2 separate regions of the Homo sapiens genome follow, and region 1 is linked to region 2. Evidence: promoter capture Hi-C in 16 types of primary human blood cells and fetal thymus (Javierre and others, 2016). All regions are on one chromosome and are shown on one strand. Each heading gives the region's core, a stretch centred on a gene start or on the middle of the fragment in contact. The rest is flanking DNA. Distances are from core to core; before and after follow the strand shown. Region 1 holds the start of GOLGB1 (golgin B1). Region 2 holds the start of KPNA1 (karyopherin subunit alpha 1).

Evidence for each region. Contacts are between HindIII fragments. The CHiCAGO score rates a contact against its expected background, and 5 or more counts as called.
Region 1: a contact is called between a fragment that was not itself captured here and the fragment with the promoter of KPNA1 in region 2, in 1 of 17 cell types (total CD8 T cells). The highest score is 6.3, in total CD8 T cells.

Annotation. Positions count from the first base shown.
Region 1 is chr3:121,749,460-121,755,844 of GRCh38, reverse strand. GOLGB1 (golgin B1) reads left to right here and starts at 6,104. Exons shown (of 22, transcript NM_001366282.2): 1 at 6,104-6,213. RefSeq lists an enhancer at 6,137-6,376. The HindIII fragment of the contact is 9,962 bases long and covers 1-6,385 here.
Region 2 is chr3:122,512,728-122,518,831 of GRCh38, reverse strand. It overlaps KPNA1 (karyopherin subunit alpha 1), which reads left to right and starts at 3,893. Exons shown (of 14, transcript NM_002264.4): 1 at 3,893-4,075. LOC107984000 (a long non-coding RNA gene) reads right to left here and starts at 3,803. Exons shown (of 2, transcript XR_924403.3): 1 at 3,704-3,803; 2 at 1,474-1,807. RefSeq lists a silencer at 3,926-4,615. The HindIII fragment of the contact is 3,104 bases long and covers 3,504-6,104 here.

The DNA of each region.
Region 1 (6,385 bases), core at 2,715-5,214, 760 kb after region 2:
ACAGTTTACATTAAAATTTACTCTTTATGTTATACAGTTCTATGGAGTTTGACAAATGCACAATACCACATATCCACCACTGCAGTGTCATACAAAATAGTTTCTCTCCCTTAAAATATTCTCTCTATTCCATATATTAATCCTTCTTTGCCCCTTCCCAACCCCATCCATGACAGCCACTGATTTTCTTTTACTGTTTCTATAGTTTTGCCTCTTTCAAAATGTCAAATTGCTGGACCACACAGTATATAGCCTTTTCAGACTGATTTCTTTCACTTAACAATATGCATTTAACGTTCCTCCATGTCTTTTCATGGCTTGATTGCTCAATTCATTTTATCACTGAATAATGTTCAATTGTATGAAATACCACAGTATATCTGTTTATCTACTGAAGGACATCTTTGCTTTCAAGTTTTGGGAATTACGAATAAAGCTGCTATAAACATTCATGTGCAAGTGTTTTTGTGGACATACATTTTCACTGATTTTGATATATCTAGGAGCATGATTGCTGGATGGTATGGTCAATCTATGTTTAGCTTTGTAAGAAACTGCTTAACTGTCTTCCAAAGTGGTTGTATCATTTTACATTCCCATCAGTAATAGATGTGAGTTCCTGTTGTTCTACATGCTTGCCAGCAGTTGATGATGTCCAGGTTTTGGATTTTTGTGATTCAAATAGGTGTGTGGTGGTATCTTATTGTTCCTTTAATTTGCAATTCCCTAGTAACATATGATGTTGACTTCCTTTCCTTTCCTTTTCTTTCCCCTCCCTCCCTCCCTTCTTCCTTCCTTCATTTATCTTTCTTCCTCTTTCTTTCTTTCTTCCCCTCCCTCCCTCTCTCTTTCTCTTTCTTTCTCTCTCTTTCTTTCCTTCCTTCCTTCCTTCCTTCCTTCCTTCCTTCCTTCCTTCCTTCCTTCTTTCTTTCTTTCTTTCTTTCTTTCTTTCTTTCTTTCTTTCTTTCTCTTTCTTTCCTCTCTCTCTCTCTCTCTTTCTCTCTTTCTTTCTGACACGGAGTCTCCCTGTGTCCCCCAGGCTGGAGTGCAGTGGCGCAATCTCAGCTCATTGCAACCTCCACCTCCCGGGTTCAAGCGATGCTCCTGCCTCAGCCTCCTGAGTAGCTGGGATTACTGGCGCGCGCCACCACGCCTGGTTAATTTTTGTATTTTTTTAAGTAGACACGGGGGTTTCATCATGTTGGTTAGGCTGGTCTTAAACTTCTGACCTTGTGATCTGCCTGCCTCGGCCTCCTAAAGTGCTGGGATTACAGGCATGAGCTATCGTGCCCGGCTGCATTTTTTTGTGTGCTTATTTGCCATCTGTGTATCTTCTTTGGTGAGGTGTCTGTTCAGATCTTTTGCCCACTTGTGAATTTTTTTAATTAAAATTTTTGCATTATAAGAGTTCCTTGTGTATTTTAGGTAACAGTCCTTTATCAAATAGGTATTCTACAAATATTTTCTCCCAGTCTGTGCCTTGTTTTTTTAATCTTCTTAACGGTGCCTTTTGCAGAGCAGAAGTTTTTCATTTTAATCAAGTCCAACTTATTGTGTTCTCCCCCCCGCATTGGCTCATGCTTTTGGTGTTGTATCTGAAAAGTCATCACCAAACTCAAAGTCACCTAGAGTCTCAAATTATCCTATAGATGTTTTATATTTTTACATTTTATATTTACATCTTAAGATCCACTTTGAGTTAATTTGTATAAAAGGTATAAGGTGTGTGTCATTTTTTGCATGTGGATTTCCAGTTGTTCTAGCACCATGTATTGAAAAGACTCTTTTCTCCATTGAATTGCCTTTGCTCCATTCTCAAAGATCAGTTGTCTACATTTATGTGGATCTATTTTGGGGCTGTCCATTCTGTTCCATTGGTCTATTTGTCTATTCTTTAGCCAATACCATGCTGTCTTGTTTACTGTAGCTGTGTAGTAAGTCTTGAAGTTGGGTAACGTCAGTCCTCCAACTTTGTTCTTCTTGAATAGTCTGTGGATTATTCTGGGTCTTTTACTTTTTCATATAAAATTCAGAATTAATTTGTTGATATCCACAAAATAATGTGCTAAGATTTTGATTGAGATCTTATTGAATCTACAGATAAAGTTGGGAAGAATTGACATCGTAACAATACTGATGCTTTCTGGGAATATGGAATATTTCTCAATTTATTTAGATTTTAATTTTTTTAATCAGAGGTTTGCTAGTTTCCTTCACATAGAGCCTGTACATATTTTGTTAGATTTATGCCTAAGTATTTATTTCGTCTTTTTTTTTTGAGGCTAATGTAAATGGTATTGTGTTTTTAATTTCAAATTCCAATTGTTCTTTGCTGAGGAAAGCAATTGACCTTTTACCCTGTAGCCTCGTTAAAATTGCTTATTAATTCCAGGAGGTTTTTGTTTATTCTTAGATATTTTTTACATAAAAAATCATGCCATCTACAAAGACAGTTTTATTTATTACTTGCTAGTATGAATATCTTTTATTTCCCTTTATTGTCTTACATTAGGCAGGAGGTTTAGTATAATGTCACCTAGGAGTAGTGACAGGGGACATCCTTACCTTGTTCCTGATCTTAGAGGGAAAGCATCCAGTTTCTCACCATTAAGAATCTGCAATATTTTTCTATCAAGTTGAGTAAATATCCTTCGATTCCTAGTTTTCTGAGTTTTTTTTTTTAATCATGAATGGGTGTTGATTTTTCTTCTTCCCCCACCTTCCCTCTTCTTCTTTCCCCACCTTCTTTCCTCAGCTTCTTTTCCCTATCCCCACCTTCCCTCTCTTCTTCCCCCACCTTCCCTCTTCTTCTTCCCCTGCCATCCCTCTTCTTCTTTCCCCTTTCCCTACCATCCCTCTTCTTTCCCCTTTCCCCACCATCCCTCTTTTTCTTTCCCCACCTTCCGTCTTCCTTTCCCCTTTCTTTCCTCTCCTTCCTTCTTCTTTTTCCCCCCTCATCTCCCTTCCTCTTTCCCCACCATCCCTCTTCTTCTTTCCCCACCTTCCCTCTTCTTGTGAAAATATTTTTCTTCATTGGTTGATGTGATCATGTGATTGTATATTTTTGCATATAATTGATATGTCTCAAAGTTATATTTTTCAAGACAATTTCTTATTTCTCCAAGATTTTAAGATTTATTCATATAGAATTCTATGTTGGATATTTTATTTAACAAATATTTATTGAGTATATACTATGCTGAAGATACGTTAGGTATGGAAGATACATTAATAAATAAGGCTGCATGAAAGTTTTGGAATAAGTTTGCATTTGGTATAGAGGAAGGTAAGATGATGATGAGGAAAGAACTGAAAAAGGGGAGAGGGAATTGGGCAACAGTAAATCACAGAGAATGTGACATTTCTTGTCTTTCAACTTTTCCTCCCTGTACTTTCAATTAGGGAAATGATCACTCTCTAAGGGACACCTGAATGACTCCACACTTCTGTGATTTCTGCAGTCTCTAACTGCTCTGGAGCTTAGAGTCATATCCAAACCCCTTAGCATAAAATGGCACAATTTTATGACCTACTCTTTGCCTAACCATTCAGTCATATCACTTATGTCAAATTGCCCAAATGGTCCATGCACATGCTGCTCCATCTACCTCCACTATTCTGTACCCTCTTTTTTGCTGGGGCAACCCCTAATTATCTTTTATTATCTTGATCACCCTCTCAGAGCCTAAATTGCTTCCATTAAGTTGCATTCTAAATTATTTCCAGTCCTTCAGTGAACTTAGAAATAATATGTTTTGCTCTTTAACTTCTCCACCTCATTTTCTTCCTTCACACCCCTAGTGTTCACTATAATTCTCACCATACTGTGCTCACCCAATAATAGAAGGTAGAGCTATAAGAAGACCTACTAGACAGAAAAAATTCTAATCTCGTCTCCCATAAGAAACTTTCATTCTGTTAAAACTGAAAGGTAAATTCTAAGGTCGAATGTGGAAATAAGTATGTAGAAAGGTAAATTTTGTGTAAGGGAGTACAATAGGACTCTCAGTGATGGCTTCTATTTTCTCTAAGATAGAAGCAAGTTCATCTGCTAGGAGTGTGAAGTGTAGACACGGGGTTGGGACTTAAAGAGGATGTTAAAGGTTTGAATAATTGTGGCAAATAGGAGAGGAAGCTGAAGACAAGAAGGATTTGGGAGTGTGCTGAAGATGGAGTTCAGCTGGAAACTGAATGTGCAGTGGTCAGGACATTGATGTCACTGATGACATTGTCCTGATGTCTCCTGCAGCATTTTGCTCCCCAAAGGTAGAAGTAGAGACCAATGGTTGGACTGATGCAGGTTTAGGACTTTGCTGGGTGGATACAATCAGGGATATAAGAATATGATGTATTCATTAAGTACTGCAGCATTCAAATTCTGTCTCTGCCCCTCACCATGTGACCTTGTGCAAATTATTTAACCTTCTGAAGTCTTATTGTCTCACATTTAAGATAAGGATAATCATATATACTTTATTAATTTAACAGATATTGAGTGCCCTCCTCTATACTTTTCTGGGACCTGGAGATAAAGCTGAGATCAAAATTACTACCTTCCTGGAGCTTATAATCTAATGAGAAGAGAGATACCAGATAAATGAAATATATAGTACTTTAGATGGCAAAATGCTTAGGGGAAAAAGAAGCAAAGAAGAAGTATATAGTGCATGCAGGAAATTGCAATTTTATTTATGTTTGTATTGATACATATTTGTACATATTTATGGGGTGTGGTAGTTTGATATATGCATACAATGTGTAATGATCAAATCAGGGTGTTTAGGATATCTATCACCTCAAACATTTATCATTTTTGTGTTTGGAACATTTCTAATCTCCTAGTTATTTTGAAATATATAACATATTGTTAACTATAGTCACCCTACTGTGCTATCAAACACTTGAACTTATTCCTTCTATCTACGTTTGTACCCATTAACCAATCTCTTCCCTCCCTCCCCCAACTCCACCTTCCCAGCCTCTGGTACTTATCTCTACTCCATGAGATCAACTTTTTAAGCTCCCACATGAGTGAGACCATGGGATATTTGTCTTTCTGTGCCAGACTTATTTCACTTAGAATAATGACCTCCAGTTCCGTAAGATGGGCAGCCAGGAAAGGCCTTACTTAGCTGATGTTTGAATTGTGAAGTTATGTAATCATTAAGATGAGTATACATACAATGGGCCAGCTGAGTGCACAGCAAGATTCAATAAATTCAAACTAACATTACTCTTATTGCCAAGAGAGTGCCTGAAATGACAGCTCATTGGAAACTGGCTACTTTCCTTCCCTTTCCTTAGGGGTTTAAGGAAAGCATGAGTGATTTCAGTCTTTTGCTGGAGCTCCTCACTGACACTCATTGCAGAGCCTGAGCCCTCAACTCTCAATCTTTGCTTAGGTCCTGGCTTAGGCTCCACTTTGTAAGAGGCACCTTCCTAGTATTCACTACTCTCTCTCTCACAATCATGTCCTTACAGACATTGCTGATCCTCTTTCATACTGACACCGGGTTCTAGTCCGAGTTCCATCACTAAGTCGCTGTTTGACTTTGGGCAAGTTACTTCTGTGGTTAATTATTTTTCATCAACAAAATCAAAAGGTGAAACTAGACGAACAACTAAGAGGCTCCAGTATTTTTTCAATCTAAGAGTCCCATATCCCCCACTCCCTTCTCACAGCTCATTCAACAATCCTAATGGCAGCGGGTGCCCGCAGTCTCAAGTCTCTGCCGAAGCCCAAGCCGCTGTCTCGGTCAGTCACAACCGACGAAGAGGAGGAATTGGAGGAAGCCAGCATAACCACTTCACACTGAGAACATCTGACCTTTCCCAGAACGCCCGCCCACTCGACACTTCCTGTCCCTCCCCAGATCTTGTTCCGGGGCACCTACTCGCGTCTAATCACTCCCCTCATTCACTCTTTAGGGTCCATTGGCTGTTTCTTTGAGGAAGCGGAGCATCTTCTGTCGTTGATTGGTTTCCGTCATTGTTGATAGGTTGGTAACAAACAAGGTGTGCCTGGTCTCCCTGGTAACGTCCTGCCGATAGTCCTGATTGGTCGGTGTCTTAATCCCATCTTCCGTCCCAACTGCTAGTGGCTGAGTCCCTGGCGGGGCGCGGCGGTGGAAGGTGTCGCGTACGGGCTTCCCGAGCTGACGTGGCTTGAATTGGGAGGGGGGCAGCTGGAGCCTCAGGCGGCAGCGCTTCTAGGTGAGTAGGGGACGCTACCCAACTCTTCCCTCTGCGAGTCCAATAACGGTCACCCCCGCCAGAGGGGCCGCGGGAGCTGCCCAAGCAGCTACACCGGAGTCCCCTCCTCGCCCCGCCTCTCCCGGATTCAGTCCTGGATCCGGCCCTTCACCCGCCTCCTTCACCTACCAGG
Region 2 (6,104 bases), core at 2,644-5,143:
ACTTTCTGGAAATAAGATTGTTTCAGAACTTTTAAAAAAAGTATCCAGAAAAAGGCAAATTAAACAGAACTTTCTGGATTTCTTTACTACAGCTGTAAACTTACTTGAAATCTAACTTCAATTTTATAAGCTCAATTTTTTTGTTGTTGTTTTGCTGAAGAGTTAGAAGTGCATAAACCATTTTCTCTGGGGAAATGAGGTTTAACTGAGGATGACATCCAATGTGCTTCAGAGTGTTTAAAAATGATAGTCATTTCACATATGGAAAGCCTACATGGTTAATTTATAGATGCACAGGACATGACTGATAGACAAACAGCAGGTTTACCTGAATATACAAAGTGGATGGACCTTTCGGAGAGCTGGAAACGAATTCCTACAAGTTTAAAAATGTGCTGTGCTAGTAAATAAAATCCTAAGTATTTTGTGCTCCAACAATTTTGTTTATAGAATATTTAGCTTTATGTTTTTACTTTGACAACAGAAGCAGTGTAATGTAGGCAGAGGAGCAAAGCTGCAAGTCAAAATTAGTTTTATGTTTGACTGTATTCAGTTTTACTATCACACAAAAGAAAAGAAAAACGTCCTAAAGATCCCAAGTAGTTCAGAAAAGTACTAATGGAAAAGGAAACAGAAAGAATAAAAATATCTCAAGCTATCATGGGACAGAAAGAAATATGTCATTATTTTTTATTTAATATAGGTAATATCTATCTCATTAGTTCTATTGTATACATTCTTTAAAAAATTCTTACACTTATTTATCTCAAGAATATAGGATGATATAGCCTACAAAATTCAAATATGCAATAGAGCTAAATTGCTATACCAGAGGAAAGAAAGAAACCTTATGAAATTGTTGCATTTTTCTCATACATATTATTTGCTTAATTAGTCTCTCTATTTATTACTACTAGTTGCTTTTTTTTTTTTTTTTTTGAGACAATATCTTGCTCTGCCACCCACGCTGAAGTGCAGTGGTGTGCTCAGACTCCTGGTCTCAAGTGATCCTCCCACCTCAGTCTCCTGAATAGCTGGGATTACAGGTGCGACTCACCATGCCCGACTAATTTTTTTGTGTGTTGAGATGGGGGTCTTGCTATGTTGCCCAGGCTGGTCTGGAACTCCTGGGTTCAAGTGATCCTCCTGCCTCAGCCTCCCAAAGTGCTGGGATTACAGGCATGAGCCACTGTTCCCAGCCTGCTATTTTATTTAATTGCATTTATGCAACAGAAAAGAAATACAACAGAATGCATAATTCTAAGTAAATATCTATTTTTCATGTTTTTATGTTCAAGTAATTTATATGTTAGATTGGCAAAAATTTAAAAAGCCAGACATTTCTAACTGTTAGCAAGTGAAGAGTATCTTATATACCGTTTCTAGAGTACAAATTGGTACAATCACTTTATGAAATAATCCAGCAATGTCTAGTGTATTAGTTTTCTATTGTATAATAAATTACCATAAACATAGTATCTTAAGACACATTTATTATCTCACAGTTTCTGTAGACCAGGAGTCTACGCACAGTTTATCTGTTTTCTTTGCTCAGGGTCTCACAAAACTGCTATCAAGGTTTAAGTCAGGCTGTCTTCTCATCTGGAGGCCACCTCTCAGGTTGTTGGCAGAATTCATTTCCTTGTGGTTGTGTGACTGAGGGCCCTGGCTTCTTACTGGTTGTCAGCTGCAGGCTGCGCTCAAGTTCTAGAAGCCGTCTGCAGTTCCCTGCCATTTAGTTTTCTCCATAGGCAGTTCGCAACATGACAGCTTGCTTCTTCAAGGCCAGCGAATCTCTAGCTCCAGTCTGGAAAGACAGTCTTATATAATGAAACGGAATCATGGGAGTGACATTCTATCACCTTTGCCATATTCTGTTGGCTAGAAGTAAGTCAAAGGTCCCACCTACACTCAAGGGGTGGAGATTATATAGGCAACACCAGGGACCAGAGATTATGGGGGCCATCTTAGATTTCTGCCTGATACATATAGTAAGGTTAAAGATGCAATGTCCTAGGATCTAGCAGTTTCCCTATACACAGTAGAGATGTACAAGAATGTTCACAGCAGCATTGTTTGTGACAGTAAAAAATACTGTTCTATACTTTCAAATTTCTCAAACTATAAAATGATATTGTCAGAGAGACAGTAGCTTATAAAACACCATGTATGGTATGATAACATTTTTGTAAAAGTAACATACATAGGAATTCAACTTCCAGCAATGGCCTACTGTTGTTTTCAATCAACCTTTCCACTACAGAGAACAACTGAACAAAATATAAAAACGTTAATGTACTGAAGAGCTACCAAGGAAGTGAGAATTTGTGAGTGCAAGGTCTGGAAGAAAAAGGAAGCCACCAGAGGTTAGCCTGATATTTGCCATCATTTTTCCAAAGCTAAGGTGATTGCTGACTCTGAAAGCAGTGGCTGAAACAGGGAGAAGAGCTTATGGCTGTCTCATGGGGCTTAGAAGGCCCACCAAAGAGAAGAGGCCCTAGTAAATACCCCAGACTTTTGGATGGGACCATCAAGGACTAGCTAGGAATAAGGGTGAACCGGAAATAAATTAGCTTTCCCAAAGACTGAAGACCGGCTCTGAATAATCAGTCTTAGTTCCTTATTGGAATAAGGTGATCTGTCTTCAGTCTAGCTGTGGTCAGGCAAACTTGCCCTTAAGTCTCTCCTGTTGAACACACCTTCCCTTTCCCCAGCCCCCTTGCTCAAACTCAACTCTGATCTTAGTAAACACAACATCAGCGGGAGAATGCTGATGCAGCAGAGAGAAGTCCAGGACAAATGAACATTGCATAACCTAGGATTCAGGTAGAGTGGTCCTCTCTCCTCTCCTCTTCCCTGGGACATTTATAAATGTATTAATCTACCTCATCTCTTTCACCTTGCTTCTTGGCATGTGTTTTAAATCTGTCTACTATTCCGTGATCCCTGCTAGGCTGGCTTCAGTTTTTCTTCTTTTGAAGCCACTACTCCATTTGCTCCCCCAAAGAATTCCATGAAATTTAACATTAGCAATCATTTGCTCCAAGTTTTCGTTTGAGAGCAGTTGAGAGTAAAACGAGTATGTGTTTCATGTAGTTTCATTATTATTATTATTATTATTGTTATTATTATTTTTGAGGCAGGGTCTCACTCCGGTTGCCCAGGCTGGAGTGTAGTGGCGCGATCTCGGCTCACTGCAGTCTCACCGTCAACCCCGGGCTCAGGTGATTCTCCCACCTCAGCCTCCCGAGTAGCTGGGACTTCAGGCGCCCGTCACCACCCCCTGCTAATTTTTGTGTTTTTAGTAGAGACGGGGTTTCGCCATGTTGCCCAGGCTAGTCTCAAAACTCCTAGCCTCAAGTGATCCACCCACCTCGGCCTCCCAAGGTGCTGGGATTACAGGTGTGAGCCACCGCGCCCGGCCCTTAATTATTTTTGATACTACGCATACGTTATCAAGCAAAGGGGATGGGAGATAACTAAAAAAGGAATGTCCAGAAGCTTCCTGCATTCATGCTGCATGTGAGCCCTTTAGACACGAGGCGCTGACCTACTAATTTTGTAATACTCCCTCAGCCTTCAATCATTCCATCATTCATTCCATCAACGCGTATTAGGTACTTAGAAGCTATACAGAGGTGAGCATCGATCCGCCCTGGAAGAGCTTAGCAAAGACAGGTTTGTACATATAACTTTCTCCAACCTTTGCCATGGTCTGCAAACCTCCTTCTTAGCGAGACCCCCTCCCCGACCCCCGACTCTTCACAGGCTGGGCGCTAACCATTAGGAATGTCCGGCGAGAGAGCGTTACAAGACTACGTCTCCCGGCAGCCTCTGCGACAAGCGCCGGAGGGGCGCGCGTAGGCGCTCGGGCCGGCCCCCGCACGCAGGCGCACTGCGAACGCCGGCTGAGCTGAGTCTCGCTGCTCGGTGCGAGGCGGCGGAGAGCGAGGCCTGGTGAGCACCGCCGAGGCGCGGGCCAGCTCTTCGAGGTTGTGCGCGGGAGTGGCACGGCGGGCGGGCGAGCGAGGGGCTAACTTCAGCGGTGGCACCGGGATCGGTTGCCTTGAGCCTGGTGAGTGCTGGGGCCTTGCGGCCCCGGCCCCTCCCCCTCCCGCCGGCAGATCCGGGCAGTCCCGGAGGGACTCAGGAGAGGCCCTGGGGCGAGGGCGGGTGCCGGCAGGGCCTAGAGCCGGGGTTCCTGGGCCGGACGCTCGCGCCGCGTCCGTGCGTCACGGGCCCGGCTGTCCTAACGGCCACAAGGCCGGCGGAGGAGAGGGTGGGGGTGGGGAGCCCTGGTGTGATCGCCATCGGGAACGCCGGTCGAGGCTAGGCGGGGCGGGGCGGCGTGGCGCGGCGGCGGGGCTGTAAGCGGCGCCGGGGACTGCGGGGCGCCGAGGCAGCGGGCGGAGAGGAGGCGAGCGCGGAGCCTGCGCCGCGGCCGGGCGGCGGGCGGGAGGCGGGGGTGGGCCGCGCAGAGCGCTGTGACAGAGGCAGGAAGGAGCAGGGGTGGCGTGTAAAAATTCTAACCCTGGCAAAAAGGGACCGTCTTGGGAATTCACAAGTTACAGACCGGGTCGGAGCCGGCGGCCCGGAGGGAGGTGGGGGAAGCGGGGGGTGGAGACGGCCGGCTGCAGTTTACCGATGTCATAACAACATGGGCCTGGAGCGGCTGATCGGGGGTGTGGTAATTATAGCAATGACAGAACTTGGTCTGCACGCCGCGTGTGCGATGCGAGGGAAGCAGCGAGGTATCGGATTAAGCTCAAAACGGGAGGAGGAAACAAGGATGACTGGAGTCAAGGAAGTCGTCATGAAGTAATGTTTTAGGATTGGGTCGTGTTCCACTTTTAAATGAAAGCGTTCAAAATATTTGATTTTTAAGGTTTCAACTCAGAACAAACGATTGCCGAGTTTTTGTTTGTATTTTAAAGAGATGGGGTCTCGCTATATTGCCCAGGCTGTACTCCAACTCCTGAGCTCAAACTGTCCTCTTGCCTCAGCTTCCCAAGTAGCTGGGACTAGTCTTGGGCAACCACACCCAGCTCTGCAGAGTATTTTTTTTTCTGAAACGTACTGTCAAGTAATATTAACTTGAATTTCACCCTTTTTTCTTAAATAAACGGTTGCTTAAAAATCTCTATTAGTAGATGAAGTGATTTCCCCCCTCCTGTTTTGTTTTTTTTTTTCTTAAGAGATGGAGTCTTGCTTTGTTTCCCGGGCTGATCTGGAACTCCTGGCCTCAAGGCATCCTCCCTACTAGCTGGAACTACAGGCGGATGCCACCAGCAAGGCTCATTCTCGACATTGTTTTTGTCTTAACTAGCTTTTGCATTTGTAATATTTTGAAAGCAGTACACAAGTTATTTTTCCCTCCTTTTTAAAGATCAAAGAGATGAAAATTTAATTTTTCAAAGGAAAGTAAGAATGAGTTCTGTTGTATTTTTACTGAAATATTCTTGGAAGACACTGTTTTATGGATAGATGAGACGTAAGAGAAAGTAAAGGAATTAACATTTATTGAGTTCTTTTTTCAGGTATTGTGTTAAATGCTTTACATATATTAAAAACATTTGAATCTGAAGTATCTGTTAATTTTTCTATTTTACAGATGAAAGCATTGACAATCAAATGTTAAGTAACTTACCTAAGGTCTTCCAGTTCTTGTTGAGAACAACCTTAGAACCCAAAGTTACTGCCATTTAAATTATTTCTCTCCTTTCATACTTTTTCGTTGTTTTCTTTATTTAATCCGTTCAATCAGCGAATACTTACAGAGTGATCTTCTAGACTTGGGGGGATATAGTCGCGATCAAAACTCACTGTCCCTGTTCTCATGGAATTTATAGTGTAGCAGGGAAAGCTAATATTACAAATATTGACTGCATAACATTTTGTCAGTTATTATAGTTGAGTAGCAACTGTAAAGCACTCTACTAAATAGTAAAGGCAGTTCAAATGGAAGCAGACAACATAAGCCTTGAGGAGTTTACAGTCCTGTAGGGCAACAAAACATACATTTATGAAAACCTAGAATAAACTAAATTAGAAAGGTATCACCTGAAATCACTATACTTGCATTATGGTATTTTTTATTTTATTTA